Regions from separate parts of the Homo sapiens genome. Here region 2 is linked to region 1. The links are contacts of gene promoters, found by promoter capture Hi-C in human tissues and cell types (Jung and others, 2019). All regions are on one chromosome and are shown on one strand. Each heading gives the region's core, a stretch centred on a gene start or on the middle of the fragment in contact. The rest is flanking DNA. Distances are from core to core; before and after follow the strand shown. Region 1 holds the start of FOXF2 (forkhead box F2). Region 2 overlaps LOC105374870 (a long non-coding RNA gene).

What was found. Contacts are between HindIII fragments. The study calls those that stand out against the background at their distance.
Region 2: a fragment that was not itself captured here is called in contact with the fragment with the promoter of FOXF2 in region 1 in 1 of the 25 tissues and cell types used here (dorsolateral prefrontal cortex).

Annotation. Positions count from the first base shown.
Region 1 is chr6:1,387,353-1,392,836 of GRCh38, forward strand. FOXF2 (forkhead box F2) reads left to right here and starts at 2,224. Exons shown (of 2, transcript NM_001452.2): 1 at 2,224-3,766. The coding sequence starts at 2,596. FOXF2-DT (FOXF2 divergent transcript) reads right to left here and starts at 2,109. Exons shown (of 3, transcript NR_187218.1): 1 at 1,667-2,109. MIR6720 (microRNA 6720) reads right to left here and starts at 3,059; the gene lies at 2,962-3,059. RefSeq lists an enhancer at 3,406-4,271. The HindIII fragment of the contact is 13,823 bases long and covers 1-5,484 here.
Region 2 is chr6:233,673-239,156 of GRCh38, forward strand. It overlaps LOC105374870 (a long non-coding RNA gene), which reads left to right. Exons shown (of 3, transcript XR_926357.3): 2 at 1,331-1,443; 3 at 2,961-3,462. Among named protein-coding and RNA genes, the nearest start is that of LINC03066, 31 kb to the left of the region's middle. RefSeq lists an enhancer at 2,362-2,451. The HindIII fragment of the contact is 4,723 bases long and covers 1-4,706 here.

The DNA.
Region 1 (5,484 bases), core at 974-3,473:
ACACACACACACACACACACTGAACTCTATGTCAGTAGAGCTCCTTTAAGATCCTATCTGTCCTCCCCACTCCAGCTTCTATTTTATGAAAATAATTATATTTTAGGCACTTAGAGCATTGGTTTAGTGAACACATTATATTTACTTTCATATTTAGTTATGTATTTTTAAGTTATTCCACACAAAATGACAAATGAGGGCAAGAGAAAAAAATACCATGAAATATATGGGGACGCACCCCCCAAAAACGCTCAGCAGTCAGTCAGAAATTCTTAGAAAGTGGAAACAACTGCGAAGCCCTACCCCAACCCAATCAAAACATCCCACCCGGAAAAGAGCGACTTGTTTCTTTTTTCTATTGGAAATGAGTGGTAAACTGAGTTCGGTTTGGCGGTGTTTTCTTAGCTGACTCTCGGCTACAATCAAGCCATTTTCGGACACATTCCCATGTAGGTACCAGGGGTGCTCTGGAGGAAGCTGTCGACGCCTGTTCAGCTAATTTAGGTTTTCTTTGTCTAATTACTGTGGAGCTTAGGGAGAAGGAGCCGGCTCAGGGCAGTAAACTGACACTCGGTCTCTGTGTGTGGTATCCAGGCAGGGTTTGATGGAAAAAGCCTGCTTCCACTCAACCTCAGGTCACTGTCTGGGGCCAGCCCCGGCCCACCCCCCTCCCACATACCCCTCCCCTCCCCACCCGCCCTCTCTGCATCTACAGCCCCACCAGCACACTCAGCCAGGAGCAGTCCCCCGGCACTCCAGGGGCACACAGGGCTCCTGCCGCCCCAGGGGGCCTGCCTAGGCTGTGCGGCTGTGAAGGCTCTTTGCCTGGTGTCTTCCTCCTGATTACTGCACAACCTCCCTTTCTCCTGCCTCCTGCAACTCCCCAGGCTCCCCAGCAGGCACACCCGTGCACCTCGGTCCTTTCAGCCTAGACGCAGCGGGGTGCCCAGCTCTACCTCCTGTTTGGTCCGCTGGTCTGCAGCACCTTCTTTCTGGGCCTCCCCCTTCAGCCCTTGGGAGGCCCCGCCAGCTCCGGCCTCCTGCTCTCCTCCTCCCTCTCCCAGCTCCTATCCCTGGTCGGACTACATTTCCCTGCACGTGTAATCCAATAACTAACTGTCGGGTCTCATTGGAAGTGATTGCTCCCGAGGGCACATCTCTCTCAGAGCCTGACTCTTACTTAGGGAGGAATTAGCCACAACTGGGGAGAAGTGTTCTCGGACAGGAGTTAGCTGAGACCTGGCACAGTTTTGGGTGGGCAATGTTAAGACGGAGGATGTAAACCTAGTGACAGCTGCACACCCCTTCAGGACTGACTATAAATATAGCCATCTCGCTTATCTCAGGGTCTTTCTTTTTCTTTCTCTTTCTTTCTTTTCTTCCTTCCTTCCTTTTTCTTTTGCACTTTTTTCTTACAGAACACTAACTGGGGTGCGGGGGTGGGGGGAAGAAGTGGAAGCAAATGCAACCCTAAGTCCCATGAGATCCAGGTTTCCAGAGTCTTTGAAACTTGGCCTAGGTTTCTCAGTGTAAATCCCTCTGCTCAAAGTTCCGAAAACGTCCACGATCGCCAGCGGCCCGCAACCCTGCGGCGGCCCCCAGTCGCCCTAACAATTGTCGGGGAGCCTGCAGGCCCTGCCAGAAAGAGAGAGGATTGGCACGTTACCTTTGGGCGTCTGGCACCCCGGCGTGTGGCTGAGGGCGGCAAAGTCTAAACGAAGTTGACAGATGGAGTCAGTATCGGCCCTGGGGAGGGCGGCCAGGGAGGCTCCGAGCAGCCGCACCCGCAGCAGCACCACTCGGCCCGGCGGGCCAGGAGGAGGAAGGGGGCGCGGAGGGGCGGGGCTGGGTCCTGGGATGGGACGCGGGGCTTGCTGCGGGGGGCAAACAGAAAGAATATTTCATGAAGTCAGAGGTGGTCGAGTTTTGCGAGGGGTGGGGGTCGTCCCCCTGGCAGAACCGGAGTGAGTCTGTGATCCCTCAATTGGAAAGAGGGTGAGTGAGGGAAAGGGGAGGAGGCCGCGAGAGGAATGAAGAGCGAGGAGACCCTGGAGAGCGGGGAGCGAGATAAGAGAGGGAGGCGGCCGCCAGGTCGGGAGGGGGAGGAGTGAGCGCGGCGGCGCGGAGCGAGGAGGGGGCAGGGCGGGGTGGGGGGGGAGGGAGGGAGGGAGGGAGCGAGGAGGGCGGCCGGGGAGGGCGAGGGAGGGAGGAAGTCCGAGAGACAGAGCGAGGAGCGCTCCTGAAGGGAGACGTCGGGCTCGTCCCCGGGGTCCAGGCCGCGGTCCCACTCGCGGGCGCAGTCGCCCGGCGCCGGCCGCTCGGCCCCGCGGCCTGGGAGGCCGTTGCGCAAGGCAGGGCCCGCGGCTCGGGGAGGGATGCGCCGGGCGTTGCCTCCCGCCCGCCGCCGCCGCCGCCGCCAGAAGCCCCAGAGGAGCTGAGGGAGGCGACGCCGAAGCGCTGGCCCGGAGTGGCCACGGCTGCAGCCCGGGCGGCGGGCTAGGGCGCTCGCAGGGCTTCTGGGCCGACCCCGCTCCGGCGCCTCCGCTTCCCGCCCGGGGCCCGCCCTCGCGGCCCGGCCTCGCTCCCGGGTCCCAGATGACCACCGAGGGCGGGCCGCCGCCGGCCCCGCTCCGCCGCGCGTGCAGCCCGGTCCCCGGCGCGCTCCAGGCCGCCCTGATGAGCCCGCCGCCCGCCGCCGCCGCCGCCGCCGCCGCCGCCCCGGAGACCACCTCCTCCTCCTCGTCGTCGTCCTCCGCCTCCTGCGCCTCGTCCTCGTCCTCCTCCAATTCGGCCAGCGCCCCCTCGGCTGCCTGCAAGAGCGCGGGCGGCGGCGGCGCGGGCGCCGGGAGCGGGGGCGCCAAGAAGGCGAGCTCGGGGCTGCGGCGGCCCGAGAAGCCGCCCTACTCGTACATCGCGCTCATCGTCATGGCCATCCAGAGCTCGCCCAGCAAGCGCCTGACGCTCAGCGAGATCTACCAGTTCCTGCAGGCGCGCTTCCCCTTCTTCCGCGGCGCCTACCAGGGCTGGAAGAACTCGGTGCGCCACAATCTCTCGCTCAACGAGTGCTTCATCAAGCTGCCTAAGGGCCTCGGGCGGCCCGGCAAGGGCCACTACTGGACCATCGACCCGGCCAGCGAGTTCATGTTCGAGGAGGGCTCGTTCCGCCGCCGGCCGCGCGGCTTCAGGCGGAAGTGCCAGGCGCTCAAGCCCATGTACCACCGCGTGGTGAGCGGCTTGGGCTTCGGGGCGTCGCTGCTGCCCCAGGGCTTCGACTTCCAGGCGCCCCCGTCGGCGCCGCTCGGCTGCCACAGCCAGGGCGGCTACGGCGGCCTCGACATGATGCCCGCGGGCTACGACGCCGGCGCGGGCGCCCCCAGCCACGCGCACCCTCACCACCACCACCACCACCACGTCCCGCACATGTCGCCCAACCCGGGTTCCACCTACATGGCCAGCTGCCCGGTGCCCGCGGGACCCGGGGGCGTCGGTGCGGCCGGGGGCGGCGGCGGCGGCGACTACGGGCCGGACAGCAGCAGCAGCCCGGTACCCTCGTCCCCGGCCATGGCGAGCGCCATCGAATGCCACTCGCCCTACACGAGCCCTGCGGCGCACTGGAGCTCGCCTGGCGCCTCGCCTTACCTCAAGCAGCCGCCTGCCCTGACGCCCAGCAGCAACCCCGCCGCCTCGGCAGGCCTGCACTCCAGCATGTCCTCCTACTCGCTGGAGCAGAGCTACTTGCACCAGAACGCTCGCGAGGACCTCTCAGGTAACGCAGCACGCTCCAGCCCAGCCAGCTGGGCGCACCGCTTCTAGGCCTCCAGGGCTGGCGGCCACTGCCACTCCCACAAACAGGGACCCCGAAGCTAGGAGGTCTGAGGGCACTGGGAAAAGCAGATGCTGGGGAAAGCCGGCATCTTATTCGTGGGAGCAGGGATCAGGGTCTTACTGTCCTCCCAGTATCCCTGGCCAGCAGCCGAAGCTTCAGAATTGTCTGGCTGCTGTGAGCGTGGTGTAAAGTCCCCTGCCTTCCTGGGCTCTTTGGGGATCCCTGTGCAGGAGACTGCAGGTCTCCCGTTCAGAGTCTCACTTAGCTTGGAGAGAAGGCATCTGGCCTTTGGGGAACTTGGTCAGGAAGCTGTGTCTAGTTCCTTTTGTCCCTTTTTTTCCTTGCGTTCATTTTGCTGTACTTCTGTCCCGAAGTAAATGTCAGAATCAGATATGTTCTGTATGTTGGGGTGTCTGCAGCGAGATGTTTGCAGCTGGGCAAGTGTTAAGAGGAGGGGGTGGGAGGGACAGAGCTGGATCCCAGGATCTTTCACTAAAGGGACATTTGCCAGTGGAGGGGGTCACCAAACTGTTGGAGACTCCTCCCCTTCCCTGCCTCCCCCCCCGCCCAACAATGGACCCACATTGATGATACAGGTCCTGGGTGGCAGGACCTGAAGGACCCTGCTAGGACTCCCCTGAGAAATGCGCCTGCCCTGTGGATGCCACTTGTAGTGTGGCTGGTTTACATTGTTCTGGTTGCAGATTATGAAAAATTATTGACTTGCTGAAGGCGGTGAAAGGTGGGAGGGGACGGTAGGGATGGAAGAGGGAATTTGAATATTTGACCAGGTTAATGTGAAGAACAGAGATAAACCCTTACATTAACCCCTCGCTCGGAGCACCTAGGGCTGCAGATTAAAATCCCATGGGCCTGCCAGTCAAAGGCAAGGCCCCAAGCTACTCTCTCACACTGGCCTCCCACAGCAATGAGACAGTGGCTTGGAGGGTGATGCATGCTTTATGTGTTCCTGAGCCGGTGTGCAGCGGGAGCACCCGGGGAGAAGGAAAGCCCAGAAATGGGCAAAAGATGTTGGTTCCCTGGACGGTGAAATTTCCCAAATAGGCCTTTTAAATGTGGGTCTCAGAGGTTAACCAAACAAAGACAGTCTCGGCAGGACCACACCGGAGAGGATTTTAGCCTGACTTAACCCACTGAGAACAGAGTCTTGTTCAATTTTATGGGAATTTCAACAAGTAACCAATACAGGCGGCCTTCCCCTCTTATTTTTGTATTCCCTTGGACCGGCTGTCAATCACACACACACACACACACACACACACACACACACACACACACCCCTCGGTGCACTGGCCCCTTCCCTTCCCCGCCTGCCTGCTCCTCTCCCAGCCTGCCAGCTGCCCTCCCTGCTCCCCTTCTTCTCCTCTCCCGGCAGATCCACTCAACTTGAACCCGGACTCTGAGGCTTAGCAGCCTTGGAGAAACCGTACTCTAGGAAGAAAAAAAAGCACACAGGAAAGAGACTCCTGACCCTTCCTCAAGGCTGCTCTCGCCCCACCTCATAACACTGGGCGCAGGCACAAGCTCCCAAAACTTCGGAATCTGGATACATTACTGTCTTGGAGGGGGTGAAAACTGCCCAGCAAAGCAAGCCGGCCTCTGTGCCCCTACCCAGCGGCCTCCCGCGGCCGGCCTTC
Region 2 (5,484 bases), core at 1,095-3,594, 1.2 Mb before region 1:
CTGTGCAGGCAGCCTGGCCCAAAGCAATAATTATCACAAAGCATAACCACAGCTCCAATGTATAGCCAAGAAATCTCTATCTTAGGAATACAAAGTGAGTGAGACAAGGCTTAAAAATAATATTAGTAATAATAATAATATCAAATAATATCAGAATAACCCTTCCAAGTGTGCTTTGCAAACAGCTTCTTTTTTTTTTTTTTTTTTTTTTTGAGACAGAGTCTTGCTCTGTCGCCCAGGCTGGAGTGCAGTATTGTAATCTCGGCTTACTGCAACCTCTCCCTCCCGGGTTCAAGCAATTCTGCTGCCTCAGCCTCCTGAGTAGCTGGGATTACAGGTGCATGCCACCATGCCTGGCTAATTTTTGTATTTTTAGTAGACAAGGGGTTTCACTATATTGGCCATGCTGGTCTTGAACACCTAACCTCGTGATCTGCCCACATCAGCCTCCAAAGTGCTGGGATGACAGGCGTGAGCCACCACACCAGGCCGAAAACATTGTCTTGTTTTAAGAGTTGTCACTTTGGCCAGGTGAGGTGGCTCATGCCTGTAATCCCAGCACCTTGGGAGGCCGAGGTGGGCAGATCATGAGGTCAGGAATTCGAGACCAGCCTAGCCAACATGGTGAAACCCCATCTCTACTAAAAAAATACAAAAATTAGCTGGGTGCGGTGGCGTGTGCCTGTAATCCCAGCTACTTGGGAGGCTGAGGCAGGAGAATTGCTTGAACCCAGGAGGCAGAGGTTGCAGTGCGTGGAGATCACGCCACTGCACTCCAGCCTGAGTGACAGAGCAAAATTCCGTCTCGGAATTGTCACTTTTTGAGACAGTCACGGCGAATGTCACTGAGCCTGAGCAAATGCTGCTCCTTGCCAGGCTTTCTCATATGCAGGGTCTGAGGCTCAGAGGGTAAGAAACTTTCCAAAGACGCACAGCAGAGGACTGGGGATCTGGATGCTGACCTATAGGATTGAGTCCATGCCTTGTGCTGCCCTAACAGAAAGTCCTGGGAAGGGCTGAGCTCAGGATACAAGCTTTACTAGGTGCAATAAATAGGTCACTGCTGGGCTGGTTCTCCTGAGGTCTCACTATCAGCTTTGGAGAAGATGCCTTTGTTCTTTCTGACTTTTGGCCCAGGAATCTTTATTAACTACTGTGATCAGGAGAAAGAGCCTGTGACAAATTGGAGGGTTGCCTATGGGGCCTCTAGGTTGCAGGGACAGAGAGATGTGTAGAGACTGAGGGAAGCAAAGGTGCATGGGGGTGAAGGTGGTACCTCTCCCTCTGCTGGTAAACAAGAACAGCCCCTCCACAACAGCCTCCCTTCCAGATGCCTGGGGTTTGCTGCTTGGAACCAAGCACCGTAGTCATCTCCTCTCCCCTGCCCTTCCTGTTCCTCTGAAGCTGAAGTCACTTCCCTGGATGATGCCTGGATAGAAGCAGGTGAGAGGGGAAAGTGCCTTGGGTGGAGGGAAACTTGTGAGATGAAAGAGGCCTCCTGAGGGGCTGTCAATCATCTAGGGCAATCTTTTTCTTTTTCTCTCTCTCTCTTTTTATTTTAATTAAGATGGAGTCTCGCTCTGTCACCTAGGCTGGAGTGCAGTGGTGAGATCTCAGCTCACTGCAACCTCTGCCACCCGGGTTCAAGTAATTCTCCTGCCTTAGCCTCCCAAGTAGCTGGAATTACAGGCACATACCACCACACCCAGCTAATTTTTGTATTTTTAGTGGAGATGGGGTTTCACCATGTTGGCCAGGCTGGTCTCAAACTCCCAACCTCAGGTGATCCGCCCACCTTGGCCTCCCGAAGTGCTGGGATTACAGGCAAGAGCCACCGAGCCCAGCCTTGAGGGTGATCTTTATCCTTTCCCAAGTTCAGTGAGTTGTACTCAAATCCCTCCTCAGAAATCCTCTTCATAAGAAGTCTCTATTTCATCCCATGCCCCCAGTCCTTTCCTCAGTGAGCCCAGATAGGCCTAGAACTGTGAGTCAGGATTTCTTCCAAAAGGATGAAAGTTTTGATGAGTGAAGTAAATATTTTCCCAATCAAAATGAAAAGTAAGAAAAGAAGAAGAGAAAGGAGAGGAAGAAAGAAAGAGAGAGAGAGAGAGAAAGAAAAAGAAAGAAAGAAAGAAAGAAAGAAAGGAAGGAAGGAAGGAAGGAAGGAAGAAGGAGAGAAAGAGAAGAAAGAAGAGAGAGAGGGAGAGGAGGGAAGGGGAGGGGGAGGTAAAGGGACAAACTAAAAGGAAAACAGAGGGGAGGGAGAGAAAGGAAAAAGTTTGGAAACTTCCTAGGATGAGCTGACTTCCCTCTAGCTGTCCTGCTCCCTCTCCCTCTTCCTCTCCCTCTCCCTCTGCCTCTTCCCTCCCCCCATCTGTCTCTCACTCTTGCTTTTGTTCTTGTGCTTGCTCTCTCCCCGTCTCTCTTTCACTTTCTCTTTTGTTCTTGCTCTCTCTGTCTCTCTCTCTCCACCTCATTTTCCACTTTTTCACATACCATGAAGCAGAAAAGAAACTTATCTTGAAAAGATTCATCCAGGACGAGGTGTCACCCACACACTGATGACTGTTGGGGGCAGGGTGGTTAATTCTTTCACAGAGAGAAACTTCTCTCTGGGGAGAGCAGAGAGAGAAGAGGTGGAATTTTTTACTCACAGAGACTGACAAGATAAAATTAGAGAATTTGGGTCTAGAAGGCCAAGCAGTAAAAATAAATATGGAAAGAACATCCTCATGGAATGTTCCACAACCTGCGTCCTTCCCAACCCTACTGCCTTCTCTCCATGGCCCTGGAAGCTCATGTCTAGGGGGAGTTTTATCTGGGGCAGTAATGGAGAGAAGGAGGTTCTAAAAAGAACGGTTACCATCACGTAGGAGTTTTGTATTTCGGACCTCAAATCTGTGTGGACAATAACTGGAACCCTTTTGATATTCAATAACTGAAATTTATTTCTCCTTTAGTGCCCATTTCACCTGTTGGCAGAAGCTTGTTTTTAGCCACATCAGGCTCTCTAGCCCTCCCCACCCAGGACTTTGCTGACTCAAAGGCCGGATTGCTCTGTCCACAGTCTCCAGCACCCCCCGCTCCCTCTCTTGCTGGAGCCATGCTGGGTACCCAGAAACCTCATGCCCAGTCTTGGCCCATCTTCCCAAATTACTATTTCCATTTTTTCTTTCCTGGTAATTTCTTTACCCTGTAGCCATCCCCCCATTACTACTGTACCTCGAGTCCCCTGGGGCTTCAGAGAAAGTCTGCTAACAACAGAAAAGGCAGAAGCCCTGAGCCCGCATCACTCTGATCCTAAAGGAGGAGGAGAGCTCCTTAGTGGCTGCAGCCTGTTTAACTTTTGTCTGCTTTCACATGACTTCAGGACTCTGAAAGATCAAGCAAAAACCAGGATCTTGGCACAGAACAAAAGTGAAATGGCATTTTTGCCCAAATATTAATAAACGCAAATGCACACCCCTGTTGTCCCTGTTGGACATGCTGGGGGACCGTGGATTTTCTCAGTCACTAATGGGAGAAATGTAAATGATAATCAGATCTTGTGGTGGGTAACTTGGTGATTGGTGTCACAAATCTTAAAACTTTTGAGCACTTATCACTTCTGCTTGGAAGAATTATAATCCTGTGCAAAAAATTGCATATGCACCTAAAATATATGTAGAGAATATTTATTTAAGTATTGCTTAAATATTAGTTAATAATTCAACACAATCTGAAAGTCCCCAAATAGGGGATTGGCTGAATGTATTAGGGTACTTCCATAAAATGGAGGAAACATGCAGCCATGAAAGTTTGCTGTACATGATATTTCACCATATTAAAAAATCAATGATATATTGCTAAGTGCAAAATGCAATTTTTTTTTTTGAGACGGAGTCTCGCTTTGTTACCCAGGCTGGAGTGTAGTGGCACGATCTTGGCTCACTGCAAGCTCCGCCTCCCGGGTTCAAGCGATTCTCCTGCTTCAGCCTCCCGAGTAGCTGGGATTACAGGCACCTGCCACCACGTCCAGCTAATTTTTGTATTTTTAGTAGAGACGGGGTTTCACCATGTTGGTCAGGCTGGTCCCCAACTCTTGACCTCAAGTGATCCATCCTCCTCGGCCTCCCAAAGTGCTGGGATTACAGGGGTGAGCCACTGCGCCCGGCCTATTCTTTTCTTTTCATCAAATTTTTTTCTCCCACAGAAAGCCCAATAGAAAACAGCACAGTGTTAAGCCTTCTTGGCTATACAAGCTCGAAGAATACTTCACAGAAATGAAAAACCATTTGTGTTCCACACCTACCCAGGCTGGTAATGAGACAGGTGTTTTGTTTGTAGCTGAAAGTTAAAGATTATACCTCTTGCTGAATTCGAAATGAGTTCACCAAAAAACAAAGCAAAACCTTCCAAAACAAACAAAAGATCCACCACGCCCCATGTGTTGTTTCAGTAAATCCACTTTCTTGCTGACTGTCTCGCTCCTCCTCATTGTTCTTCCTATAAAATGGATCACTTGGCCCACAAGCACATGAGCCAAACAGATCTTAATGATCACTGGCGACATTGAAATCCAAGAACACAGGAGCTGTTGAAGCCTGAGACCAAATCTGGGAAGGGAGAATTGAAAAGGACAAGAAAATCGTCCCACAAAGGATTTGAACACACACGGAAGTGGCATGTTAAAACGATATGTGCACCATGAAGAATCTTGAAGAGAAAATTGTAGTTGGGAAGTTTCTTAGTAAGGGGAGAGGGAGTTCTTACTATATACATTATATTAACATATTAACGTTAATCAATATTAATTTCTGGAAGAATATACTTCACTAAAATGAAAAAAGGTTTGATGTTGAAGAAATTGAGACACAAAAGAGAATCCATTTATTTAACTTGGGGAGTTAGTTTCACTTTGGTTTATTTATGATATTTCAATATGCTGACTTTAATTTTTTTGGATACGCTATATTAGTACATATTTGTGGGGTACATGCACAGAATGTGTGATGATCTAGTCAAGATATTGATCATTTCCACGTGTTGGGTACACATCAAGTCCTCTCTTGTAGCTATTCTGAAATACATAATACATTGTGTTAACTATAGCCACACTGCTCTGTTATCAAACATTAGAACTTATTAAATGGAAAGATACCCAGCACTTGGGGAAGCCGAGGCAGGCGGATCATTTGAGATTGGGAGTTCAAGACCAGCCTGGCCAACATGGTGAAACCCCATCTCTACTAAAAATACAAAAAAATTAGCCTGGCGTAGTGGTGTGCACCTATAGTCCCGGCTACTTGGGAGGCTGAGGCAGGAGAATTGCTTGAACCCAGGAGGCGGAGGTTGCAGTGAGCTGAGATCGTGTCACTGGGAGACAGAGTTAGACTCTGTCTCAAAAAAAAAGAAAAGAAAAGACACAAAGGCACACTCTTATTTTATGAATAAATGTCTCCTCAGTCAGAGGCAGATGCTTGTCCATACGCTGCAGTTACCACT